Linked DNA regions of Homo sapiens: region 1 is linked to region 2. The links are contacts of gene promoters, found by promoter capture Hi-C in human tissues and cell types (Jung and others, 2019). All regions are on one chromosome and are shown on one strand. Each heading gives the region's core, a stretch centred on a gene start or on the middle of the fragment in contact. The rest is flanking DNA. Distances are from core to core; before and after follow the strand shown. Region 1 overlaps LOC101928046 (a long non-coding RNA gene). Region 2 holds the start of SLC8A3 (solute carrier family 8 member A3).

What was found. The method cuts DNA at HindIII sites, captures the fragments that hold promoters and counts their contacts. A contact is called where the count stands out against the background at its distance.
Region 1: a contact is called between a fragment that was not itself captured here and the fragment with the promoter of SLC8A3 in region 2, in 2 of the 25 tissues and cell types used here (H1 embryonic stem cells and pancreas).

The regions. Positions count from the first base shown.
Region 1 is chr14:70,308,510-70,315,101 of GRCh38, reverse strand. LOC101928046 (a long non-coding RNA gene) reads right to left here. Exons shown (of 7, transcript XR_007064236.1): 5 at 1,248-1,302; 6 at 684-784. Among named protein-coding and RNA genes, the nearest start is that of COX16, 48 kb to the left of the region's middle. The HindIII fragment of the contact is 4,589 bases long and covers 1,876-6,464 here.
Region 2 is chr14:70,187,621-70,193,906 of GRCh38, reverse strand. SLC8A3 (solute carrier family 8 member A3) reads left to right here and starts at 4,956. Exons shown (of 7, transcript NM_182932.3): 1 at 4,956-5,528. It also overlaps the pseudogene LOC646548. RefSeq lists silencers at 4,982-5,311, 5,382-5,521. The HindIII fragment of the contact is 13,926 bases long and covers 1-6,286 here.

The DNA of each region.
Region 1 (6,592 bases), core at 2,921-5,420, 120 kb before region 2:
TAGTCTTATCTTTGTAAAGTAAAAACCAGATGAACTACAAGTTCAGATACTCCCACTCGCCATAATATGCACTGAATTTTGTATGCAGAATGGGTTCACTTAAGTTCTCTATGATCTTATCACTTAACGGATAACATGCTTGTGAACCCCAAAAATCTGAGACAGGTCTCAGCTAATTTAGAAAGTTTATTTTGCCAAGATTGAGGATGCATGCCCATGACACAGCCTCAGGAGGTCCTGAAGACATGTGTCAAAGGTGATCAGAGCACAGTTTGGTTTTATAAATTCTAGGGAGACATGAGACATCAATCAACATATAGAAGATAAACATTGGCTCGGTCTGGAAAGGCGGGACAACTCAAAGCAAAGGCGGGAGGACTCAAAGTGGGGAGGGGGCTTCCAGGTCATAGGCAGATAAGGGACAGATGGTTGCATTTCTTCTGAGTTTCTGATTAGCCTTTCCAAAGAAGGCAACCAGATATGCATTTATCTCAGTGAGCAGAGGGGTGACTTTGAATAGAATGGGAGGCAGGTTGGCCCTAAGCAGTTCCCAGCTTGACTTTTCCCTTTAGCTTAGTGATTTGGGGGCCCCAAGATTTATTTTCCTTTCAAATTTCCCCCTTTATCTTTTTAAAAATCTTTTGGAGAAAGGACTTTAGAAGAAAATGAGTCTCTGGTCTCACATTTTCTCTGATCTTTCATGTTTAGGATGGTTTATTCCTAGACAGGTAGGTCCCGAGTTATTAGGAAAGCTCATTTTCAGCAGGTTGTGAAGTCTTATATTCTATGAAGAGAAAATAGGGGGAGGAAGGGAGAAAAGCAACATCAAACTAAAGAACAATCCTGGGAAATCAATATAGGCCACATTACTATGAAGTCCATATATCAGTAGGCAGGTATGAAAGTGGCTTATGTATGTAAACAGGTTGCTGTTACTTTCTTCTGAAGTTTAGTTGTCTAGCTTCAGTTCACAGGGCTTTACAAAAGCACAGCTTAGTTTTTGGTGGTTCCAAATTAGGAAAAATGGGGGAAAAAAAGAAGGAAAAAATGGAAAACATTATTTTGCAGGCTTGTAGCCAAGAAAAATTAGAATTCAGTCCAAACTGTAGAAAATAATAAAAATTGAAAAACATTAGACAAGACTAGAATCTAACAACAGGTGTTGTATTCATCCATTTTCATGCTGCTGATAAAGACATACCCAAGACTGGGTAATTTACAAAGAAAAAGGGGTTTAACGGACTCACAGTTTCATGTGGCTGGGGAGGTCTCACAATCATGGCAGAAGGCAAAAGTCATGTCCTACATGGCGGCAGACAAGAGAAAATTAGAACCATGCAAAAGGGATTTCCACTTATAAAACCATCAGATCTCATGAGACTTATTCACTACCATGAGAACAGTATGGGGGAAACTGCCCCCCACAACATGATTCAATTATCTCCCACCAGGTCCTTCCCACAACGTGTGGGAATTATGGGAGCTACAATTCAAGATGAGATTTGGGTGGGGACACAGCCAAACCATATTAAGTGTACTACAGTTTTTGAAATATAATTTTTCTCTCTCTAGTTTTCCATTTTTACAAAAGACAAATCATGGTAGGACTGATTTGCTTTATTATACTTGGCTTGATTATTTGTATATAGTGCAGCAAGAATAATTATTTATTTTTTACATAGGCTTTTAAATTGGCTTTGATGGAATTTTGTTCCATAGAAGGAATCTCACATAAGACTTTTTTAAAGCTGAGCCCAGCCATGGATTTGGACCATCAAATACTTATGAGTTGGGTGAATTCCTCTCTTCTTCAGGTTCCAAGATAAACTTGGGGCTCCTGAGCCTGTCAGAAAGTGACATTCTTTACTTACCACAGGTCAGGAACCCTGTACAGGGACTGTGTAGACAAAGATATAAGGCCAGTTTTTCCAAGGGGCTTATATTGGCTCCATAAGTCAAGTTTGATTCCTTAAAGGAAAGCACACCATTCCAGTCAAAGCCTTGGTAAAATAACCAGTTTCTCCAATTGTGTCCTGTTACAAATGAAAACAGATTCTTATTGTACTTATGCAAATAACTATTATCATAAATTAAGAATACTCACAGGCCAGGTGCAGTGGCTCACACCTGTAATCCCAGCACTTTGGGACGCCGAGGCGAGTGGATCACAAGATCAGGAGTTTGAGACCAGCCTGGCCAATATGGTGAAACCCCGCCTCTACTAAAAATATAAAAATTAGCCAGGCGTGGTGGTGGGTGCCTGTAGTCCTAGCTACTCGGGAGGCTGAGGCAGCAGAATTGCCTGAACCCGAGAGGCGGAGGTTGCAGTGAGCTGAGATCGTGTCATTGCTCTCCAGCCTGGGTGACAGAGCAAGCCTCCATCTCAAAAAAAAAAAAAAAAAAAAGAATATTCACAAATAGTTCCCAAATTATGTAGAAATCAGGTAGAGAGAAACAAAGGGAATATACTTTACTCAATTGTTAAAAGCTGTAAATAGCTTAAAAGTCTTTTTGACTCTGAAAAACAAAACAAAGGATCAGCAACGTTTTATTCTATTAGTTTAGTCCATGCACTTAATTCCTATTCTGTTTGTTATTCAGGAGCATTTCAACTCTCTATGAGCCCTGAAAGTTTCTCCTCTATTCTGATGTCACAATCTCCAAAGCTATCAGAAAACTGCATTCAAGAGCACCTGTTAAGAGTTTTATAGCTGATTATAAAACCACCTTCTAAAGAGGACCAAAACAAGACAAGAAGGGCAGCCGTAGTCAAAGACACAATTGACAAGGAAATTTGTTACCTCTGTGTCACACAATAATTTAACATAACAATTATAATTATTACTGATAACATACACTAAGTCATATCAGAATTATAGGAGTTTCCCATAATTTTGGAACACATACCAGCAACATATTTATACAAATACGGCCCAAAGAAAAACCAAATACCATTTCATATTTGACAATGCTTCCTGTATAATTTCTATATCAAATAAGCCAAACATGTCATTTTTTGACTTTAGGGATCCTATTAATAATATCTTAAAGGATTAATTAGGTCAGAAATGACATAATGTATAATTTGATTTTGGAAAGTTTGTCAAATATCAAAGGTTTAAAATACTTGATACCAGGCCAGGCATGGTGGCTCATTCCTGTAATCCCAGCACTTTGGGAGGCCAAGGTGAGTGGATCACCTGAGGTCAGGAGTTTGAGACCAGCCTGGCTAATATGGTGAAACCCCATCTCCACTAAAAATACAAAAAATTAGCCAGGTGTGGTGGTGCACTTCTGTAGTCCCAGCTACTTGGAAGGCTGAGGCAGGAGAATTGCTTGAACACAGGAGGCAGAGGTTGCAGTGAGCTGAGATCATGCCATTGCACTCCAACCTGGGCAACAGAGCGAGACTCCATTTTAAAAAGTAATAATAATAATAATAATAATAAATAAATAAAACACTTGATATCACAAAATGGGATTACAGGCCATTGTAAAGTAAGTCATTCATTTAACCAAAGTGATAACTCAAGGATTTCAAAAAAGAGAAAACCTTCATTCTTTGAGAGAGAAGACTTAATTTTCCAAATAATAAGCCCTAATAAAAATAGCATGAAGCCAATTAAATTTGTTTTTCAAATTTTACCCATATGCTAGTCTTGCAGAGGTGTGACTTTGACATTAATGGTTAATTTGTAGAGAAACTGAACTTATTTTATCTCTTAAAATCGGCCCTCACAATCTCACATGCCCACCTCTTCCACAATAGTCCCTGGGCCTTGTGGAGTTGAACGGCTTTAATTTCTGGGCCTGTGTCTCAAGAAGGTAGTTTATTTTGATTGGCATCTTCTATGGGGCCTGAAGATGAGGCTTTAATTGCTGTCAGTGTTTAAGAGTTAGAAAGGGATGGCCGAATAGGAACTGCTCCAGTCTACAGCTCCCAGTGTGAGTGACACAGAAGATGGGTATTTCTGCATTTCCAACTGAGGTACAAGGTTCATCTCACTGGGACTTGTTGGACAGTGGGTGCAGCCCATGTGAGTGTGAGTCAAAGAAGGGCGGGGTATCGCCTCACCCTGGAAGCACAAGGGTTCGGAGAATTCCCTTTCCTAGCAAAGGGAAGCCGTGACAGACGGTACCTGGAAAATCGGGACACTCCCACCCTAATACTGCGCTTTTCCAATGGTCTTAGCAAACGGCACACCAGGAGATTATATCCCATGCCTGGCTGGGAGGGTCCCATGCCCATGGAGCCTTGCTCACTGCTAACACAGCAGTCTGAGATTGAACTGCAAGGTGGCAGTGAGGCTGAGGGAGGGGCGTCTGCAATTGCTGAGGCTTGACTAGGTAAACAAAGCGGCCGGGAAGCTTGAACTGGGTGGAGCCCACTGCAGCTCTAGGAGGCCTGCCTGCCTCTGTAGACTCCACCTCTGGGGTCAGGGCACAGCTGAACAAAAGGCAGCAGAAACTTCTGCAGACTTAAACGTCCCTGTCTGACAGCTTTGAAGAGAGTAGTGGTTCTCCCAGCACGGAGTTTGAGATTTGAGAACTGACAGACTGCCTCCTCAAGTGGGTCCCTGACCCCCGAATAGCCTAACTGGGAGACAACTCCCAGTAGGGGCCGACTGACACCTCATACAGCCGGGTGCCCCTCTGAGACGAAGCTTCTAGAGGAAGGATCAGGCAGCAACATTTGCTGTTCTGCAATATTTGCTGTTCTGCAGCCTCCGCTAGTGATACCCCAGCAAACAGGGTCTGGAGAGGACCTCCAGCAAACTCCAACAGACCTGCAGCTGAGGGTCCTGACTGTTAGAAGGAAAACTAACAAACAGAAAGGAATAGGATCAACATCAATAAAAAGGACATCCACACCAAAACCCCATCTGTAGGTCACCATCATCAAAGACCAAAGGTAGATAAAACCACAAAGATGGGGAGAAACCAGAGCAGAAAAGCTGAAAATTCTAAAAGTCAGAGCACCTCTTCTCCTCCAAAAGAATGCAGCTCCTCACCAGCAATGGAACAAAGCTGGACGGAGAATGACTTTGACAAGTTGACAGAAGTAGGCTTCAAAAGATCAGTAAGTAAAACAAACTTCTCTGAGCTAAAGGAGGATGTTCAAACCCATCGCAAAGAAGCTAAAAACATTGAAAAAAGATTAGACAAATGGATAACTAGAATAAACAGCGTAGCGAAGACCTTAAATGACCTGATGGAGCTGAAAACCATGGCACAAGAACTACATGATGCACGCATAAGCTTCAGCAGCCGATTTGATCAAATGGAAGAAAGGGTATCAGTGACTGAAGATCAAATGAATGAAATGAAGTGAGAAGAGAAGTTTAGAGAAAAAAAGAGTTAAAAGAAACGAACAAATCCTCCAAGAAATATGGGACTATGTGAAAAGACCAAATCTTCGTCTGATTGGTGTACCTGAAAGTGACGGGGAGAACCAAGTTGGAAAACGCTCTTCAGGATATTATCGAGGAGAACTTCCCCAACCTAGCAAGGCAGGCCAACATTGAAATTCAGGAAATACAGAGAATGCCATAAAGATACTCCTTGAGAAGAGCAACCCCAAGACACATAATTGTCAGATTCACCAAGGTTGAAATGACAGAAAAAATGTTAAGGGCAGCCAGAGAGAAAGGTCGCGTTACCCACAAAGGGAAGCCCATCAGACTAACAGCGGACCTCTCAGCAGAAACTCTATAAGCCAGAAGAGAGTGGGGGCCAATATTCAACATTCTTAAAGAAAATAATTTTCAACCCAGAATTTCATATCCAGCCAAACTTCATAGGTGAAGGAGAAATAAAATCCTTTACAGACAAGCAAATGCTGAGGGATTTTGTCACCACCAGCCTTACAAGAGCTCCTGAAGGAAACACTAAACATGAAAAAGAACTGGTACCAGCCACTGGAAAAACATGCCAAATTGTAAAGACCATTGATGCTAGGAAGAAACTGCATCAACTAACAAGCAAAATAACCAGCTAACATCATAATGACAGGATCAAATTCACATATAACAATATTAACCTTAAATGTAAATGGGCTAAATGCCCCCAATTAAAAGACACAGACTGGCAAATTCGATAATGAGTCAAGACGCATCATCAGTGTGCTGTATTCAGGAGACCCATCTCATGTGCAGAGACACACATAGGCTCAAAATAAAGGGATGGAGGAAGATCTACCAAGCAAATGGAAAGCAAAAGAAAAGCAGGGGTTGCAATCCCAGTCTCTGATAAAACAGACTTTAAGCCAACAAAGATCAAAAGAGACAAAGAAGGCCATTACATAATGGTAAAGGGATCAATTCAACAAGAAGAGATAACTATCCTAAATATATATGCACCCAATACAGGAGCACCCAGCTTCATAAAGCAAGTCCTTAGAGACCTACAAAGAGACTTAGACTTCCACACAATAATAATAGGAGACTTTAACACTCCACTGTCAACATTAGACAGATCAATGAGACAGAAAGTTAACAAGGATATCCAGGACTTTAACTCAGCTCTGCACCAAGCAGACCTAATAGACTTCTACAGAACTCTCCACCCCAAATCAACAGAATATACATTCTTC
Region 2 (6,286 bases), core at 3,707-6,206:
TGCTGAGAAGAATGTGATCAAACAATCTTGGAGAGGGAGAGTGTAGGCAAATGTTCACAGCAGCATTATTCAAAAAATAAAAAACCAGAAACAATTTAGATATCAAGAGCAGAATAAAAAGTTGAGTTGCATATTCATTCAAAGGAAACTATACATAAATGAAAAATCACAAATTGCTGCTACACACAACAATATGAATGAACATCACCAAAATTATGCTGAGCAAAGAACCCCCAAAACAGTACTTTCCATCTGCTTCCATTTACGTAGAGTTCAAAGTCACATAAGATTAATGTGTGGTTTTAGAAGTCAGGAGAGCCGTTCCCTCTGGAGAAGAGGAAGAAGCATCGCTGGGAGAGGCACGAGGGGAGCTGCTGGGGTACTGGTAATATTTATTGTTCTGGATGATGATTAAATAAAATATATTCACATTGTGAAAATTCTTTGAGCTATAGTCATGACTTGTGCACATTTCTGTATGTATATCCTACTGCAATAAACTTTATAAAAGGAAAAATAAATAATTGACAAATTTTTGAAATACAAGTTATAATGAGATTAAAAATAATATAACGCATAGGGAAGAATTATGTCTCACTAAATAAATACCCTATTATCAGACAGGGTTTACTAAACTTCCATCCTCCCTACAGAGCTGTTCCAGAACTTACTTTTAGCTTCCACTTGACTGCTGTTGTTTCTCAACTGCTATCAGATTGTATAGTCCAAGGGCTGTGGAATGCTGGCACCTAGGTTGCTTGTGAGAAGAGACACTGTGGCTTGTGTGGGATGCAGTGCCACTGGTGGCCAGGACTGGCAGGTCGTCTGCTTATGAAGTGCCTGAGGCCCCGCTTTTGGAGAGGCACTGACTTGTGGAGTTCTGCAGCATAATGGCAAATACTGGGGCCCCACCAAGAAGCCATGTGGTCCCTTCCCACTATTCATCCCATCTGCCCTATTACTTGCTGCTCAGCCTCTAGAGAAAGGGTATTCTATGACAAGGACTCACAGAATTAGGGCTACTATGACAAAATACCAAAGACTGAGTGGCTTAACTAACAGAAATTATTTTCTCATAGTTCTGGAGCCTAGAACTCCCACATCAAGGTGTCAGCACATTTGATTTCTCTCTCCTTGGCTTGCCTTCTCGCTGTGTCCTCACAAGGTTGTCCCTCTGTCTGTCTGTGTCCTAATCTCCTCTTCTTATAAGGATAGCAGTCATAGTGGATTAGGGCCCACACTGACGGCACTGTTTTAATTTTATTACCTTTTTAAAGACCCTGTCTCAAAACCCAGGCACATTCTGGGTACTAAGGGCTAGGGCTTCAACACACAAGTTTTGGGACACACAATTCAGTCCATAAAAGAGTCTGTCTAGTTCTTACCAAGCTCTGTGACTGGGCTGAATCCTGTAGCTTCTCGGGTCCTGAGTTTCTTCCCAACTTGAAAATGAGGTTTGTGGCTCTTGCTCCCAATGCTGATGTTACACAGCTTACTTTCCATCTTCCTTGTGAACATCTCCTTGGGTTCCAGTACAGCTAGATATAAGTAACAATGGCAGAAATGCAAGTACGGTGTCATTACATTTAATGTTTTCCAACCCTGTATGCATGTAGTGGGGAGAAAAAAAGAAGTGAGAATGTCCAGAGTTGAAAGCAGTCTGAGACTTCATAGGCCACGTGAAGGTTGGCTGTAGAACTTAAGATGGGAGAGAAGCAGGGTTGGGGGAGAACAAAAGTAGGGGAGAAGGAGAATTGATATATATTTGGGGATTGGTCTGTACCAGAAACTGTAATCTCACTGAAGCTTCACAACAACCTCACGAGGTGGGTATTATTATTATTAATAATAATAATTAATAATAATAATAATAATTATTATTATTATTAATAATAATAATTATTATTATTCCCATTTTACTGGTGAGGACACTGAGGCTCAGAATGCAGAGCTGGGCTTTGCTATTTCAGTCTACCTAGAACTCAGAGGAACCTACGCAAGTCAGCTCTGCCGACAGCGTTGGTTGAACATGCTTTGGCACCTCTTGCCTTCCTCCCCGCAGCATTGCCCTGTCACAGGTGACAAGAGGAAGACAAGGTTCCTGTCTGTTTTGTTTGGTAGTTCTAAAAAAATGACATGACCAATTCTGTTGTTGTTGCTGGTTCAGTTTTAGTGAATAGGTAATGTTCACTGAAAATATATCAATAGATATTAACAAGCAAACAAATAAAATTCTGGCACAAGCAAAACTAAGCCACAGTGACAGAAAGCAGATCAATAGTTGCCTGTGGGAAGAGCGGATGAGTATAAAGGGGCCTGAGAGGACTTCTGGGGGAGATGAAAATGTTCTATGTCTTGACTGAGGTTGTTGCTCTACATGTATGTACTTGTATAAAAACTCTTCAAACTATACACTTAAAACAGGTGAGTTTTTAGTAGTAGTAGTGATGTTTGGATACCTGTAACTTTATCTCCATTAGAAATGTCAGATATTTTAATATCATCAGTTAGTTTTTGCAGGTATCTTGAAATATTATTCATGTTCCTCACTACTGGGATAGTTTTGCAGATTCATGTTCCTCACTACTGAGATAGTCATTTAGCCTGTGCACTAGACCTTGCTTTTGATGCCTTCATAAAGCATAGATCAGAAAAAAGGTGAGTTGTTGTATGTAAATTACACCTCAATAAAGTTGATTGATACAAAGAGAAACAAAATCACCAGAAATCCCACCACCAAGAGATAACCACTACCATTTTGGGGTTTTTATGCTGCCAGGGCATTCATCCCCACCCCGCCACCCCCGCACATGCTGTGTTACACTGTGTTCTGGGGTTTTTTTTCTCTCTGTCTACGATATATTATAAAAACCTTTCCACACCAGTACACAGAATGCTGCATCTGTATTTTTACAGTGGTAGAATACAGCATTATGTCAACAAAACATGTTTACTTCACCAATTTGTTGTGTTGGAAAATTAAGATGTTTCCAATTTTTCACTCTTAAAAACACTACCATGAATATCCTTGTAACTAAATATTTGAGCATATCCTTAATGATTGCCATAGAATAAATTTCTTCCAGTAAAATTACTGGGTCACAGGCATTCACGTTTTTAAGGAATTTGATGTATCTTTCAAAATTGCCCTACCTAAAAACTCTATCAATTTAGGTGCCCATTAGCCATCTCTTTGTCTCTACTGTAGACTCTCAATGTGTAGACTCAGCATTGTGACTCTCCACGGGAGCAGACACAAGGTAAGTCCCAGTAACTGACATATCCTGAGATCCCACAACTTTAGAAGCTATTGAAACCTTTCAAAGTCAGTCCCAGCCCTAACTTTAAATGAAATTCAAGACCCATAAAGGTTCAGGGGTCTGAAAGCACTCCTACTGCTCCTACTGAGCACATCCAGGATTCTGACTCCGGACTCAGGCCAGAAACCACCACACAGCTTGCTAACGGAACACTGAGTCAAAGGACCAGCAAAGACCTCCTGCCATCTCAGGCTTAGAGATTCCCTAGTCTCTACACCCCCTTAATCTGTTTGAACCAAGCCTTGCTCCAGAGCAGCCGGGCAAAGGAGCCAGGGATCTCAGGAGTCACACACACTGTTGACGTCTCAGCACAACTCCGGTTGGTTGCATTTTATTTCAATCCTTGGCTCTGCTGCACGTGGCCTTGGGATGGTTATTTAACCTAAGGCTCAATTTCCTCAACAAAAAAATGGAGTTGGTAATTGTACCTAGCTCACAGAGTTTTAGTAGGATGGCATGAGGTAATACAATCAAATTCACTAGCACCACTCCTGGCCCTTAAAAGGTGCTGCTATTTGGTAAGTATTATTATCATTTGTTGGCCCCTCACACTTAGCCTCAGGCAGCAGAGAGGCCTGAAAGAGAACAACTTCCTGCCCTTACATTCTGACTTTTCTGCACTGGTGTCGCTACAGAAGGCCAGCCACCAGGCTCATTTTAGATCTGCCTAATGCCACCGATAAGCTGAGGGCTTGAAACCCCATTCTTAGGAGTGGCTTGCCCACCCCGCATGCCTCTAGGACCAAGCCTGACAAATATAGCAGAAATTACAGGCATCTGATTTAAGGCTACGTGTGTACACTTCGCCTGAGCCAAGCCCCAAGCCCTAGTCCCGCTGCTGCATCAAAGGACCAGCTCTCTTCCAGCCTCCAGGCCCAGAGTAAGCAGCAATTTGGGAGGCAGCCCCCTCTTATTTTTAGCTTTAGAAACCCGAAAAGCCAACATACCAGAGCTCACCCAAGCGTCTCTCACAAACTGTTGTTTGACTTGGGTTGAGAAAATGACAGGCTGGGTTCTGCACCAAGAAGAGAAGAAAAAAAGAGGGGGAAAAAAGGAGTTTTCTTTTCCCTCCGCTGCCAATCTCCATCCCCCTCAACTCCTCCCCTAGGCCTGGGTGGACCCTGCCTGGGTAATAGTTCCCTGCTATATTTAAAAACCACAGATGTGTTTGGTGGAGACTTAATTTCGGAATTGCAGGCAGCGTCTCCTGAGGACAAGGGGAAAGCCGGTGCCGCGCGCCCGCCTGCTGCCTGGAGCTCCCAACTCGGCGGAATCCAGGTCAGGACGCGCCGCCGTTTTGACGTGCTGCCGGCCGGGAGGCGCGGGCGCCAGGCTCCAACGACTAGGGTGGGTGGCCGCGGGGCAGGGGTTGGATCTGAATTCGTCCCTCGGGGGCTCTGGATGCGGGATGCGGGATGCGGGATGCGGGCTCGACTTCCTCGCTGCTGGTCGAGGAGCGTTCTGAGAGTCTCCCCTCCGCGCGCGAGGATAAATATGCGCGGCTTGTCAGTCAGTGCGGCGCTGTCTCCCAGCTGATAGGGTGACGTTCCGTTTGGAGGCTTGGAGATTGGCTTTTTGATTTGGCTTCTTCCGGCAGCTTAATGGGCAAAGCTCTCCGCTCGCCCAGAAACCAGCCTCTCCGCGCGTCCCCTCTGCGCGCGGCGAGGCCGAGACGTCTCCCGCGGTGACAGCGTGCAAGGCGGAGACCCGGCGCGCTCCCAGCCCAGGGAAAGCCCAGGCGACGCGACCGCAAGCCCGAGCCCAGGTCCCTCGGAGCCGCCAGGGCGCGCCGGGCTGCTTGCCTTCCTGCCCCTTCCTGCAGGAATCCCCCGCCGCCCGCGGCCGGGACTCCGGGCCTCTCCCGGGCGTAGATTCCAGTCACCGCTCTGGGTCGGGGTTTCCCTCTTTCTGAAATCCGTGCGGAAGGACCCCTCCCGGGGCCCCTCGCCCTGGCCCCAGACACCCTCCCTCCCAGACCCCGCGCTCCAGATGCGCTGCCCCGCAGCTCCCTGACAGCTGCGAGCCCACGAACCCCGGCGGGAGGGCGGCGGCGGCGGACTGACATGCCCCGGACGCGGCTGCGGCCGGCGGGCAGCCCGCGGGGGCGATGAGCCGCTGCGACCGGTGAGGCGCCGGGCGGCGGGGGCATCGCGTACCTTCCTCACCCCCCTCCCTTGCCCACTCCGCTCGGGAGGCCGAGAGGAAACGGTGAGTAATGGGGTGAGCCTCCTGCCCTTCCCCCTTAGCGGGCAGCCGAGACATGGGAGGTAGAGGTTGGGGGGCTTGGGATGCCCCTAAGAGGATCCCTGATTGTGAGTAACGGGGTTAAGTTATTTCTCAAGATCATTCATATGAACCGCCTTCCTGTGGATTTAGTGCCAGGAGAAGTGGGGTGAGGGTGCCCCGGAAAGTGTACATTGTGTATGCAGTGTTGGGGGGGCAGATCTGGCAGAGTGGGTGTCTACAGGAGGGTGCCGCCGGGTGGGGAGGGGCAGAGAGAGATGCCTGGGCAGGTGGGTACAGTTGGATCGTGAGCATGCTGGGTTGGTAGCGGGTGCTGTTTGGGGAGACTGACTGCTGTGTTGTGTGTGCTGGATGCATGTCGGCATATGTGTGCCACCTGGGCCAGGGCGTGTTGTGCTTCTGGTGCTGTGAGTGTCCGCCGGGTTTGGGGGCTAGCAGGGAAGCGCGTTATCCACTCGGCGCGCGCCCGCGTGCACATACGCACGCACGCGCTCACCCCAATCTCGGGACTCCACCGCCGCGGGTCGGGAGCTGCAGCCCCAGAGCACCCACCGCTGGGGCCAAGGGGGCGAGGGAGAAGGAGGGTTTCTCCAGTGCTGCACTCTCCAGCCCCTGGTGGTCTGCGTGATCCGGGACTCGGTGGAGAGAATCGAAATATATAACTAACCCTCCCCCGATCCCCCAACACACACGCGCGCGCGGACACACACACACACACACAC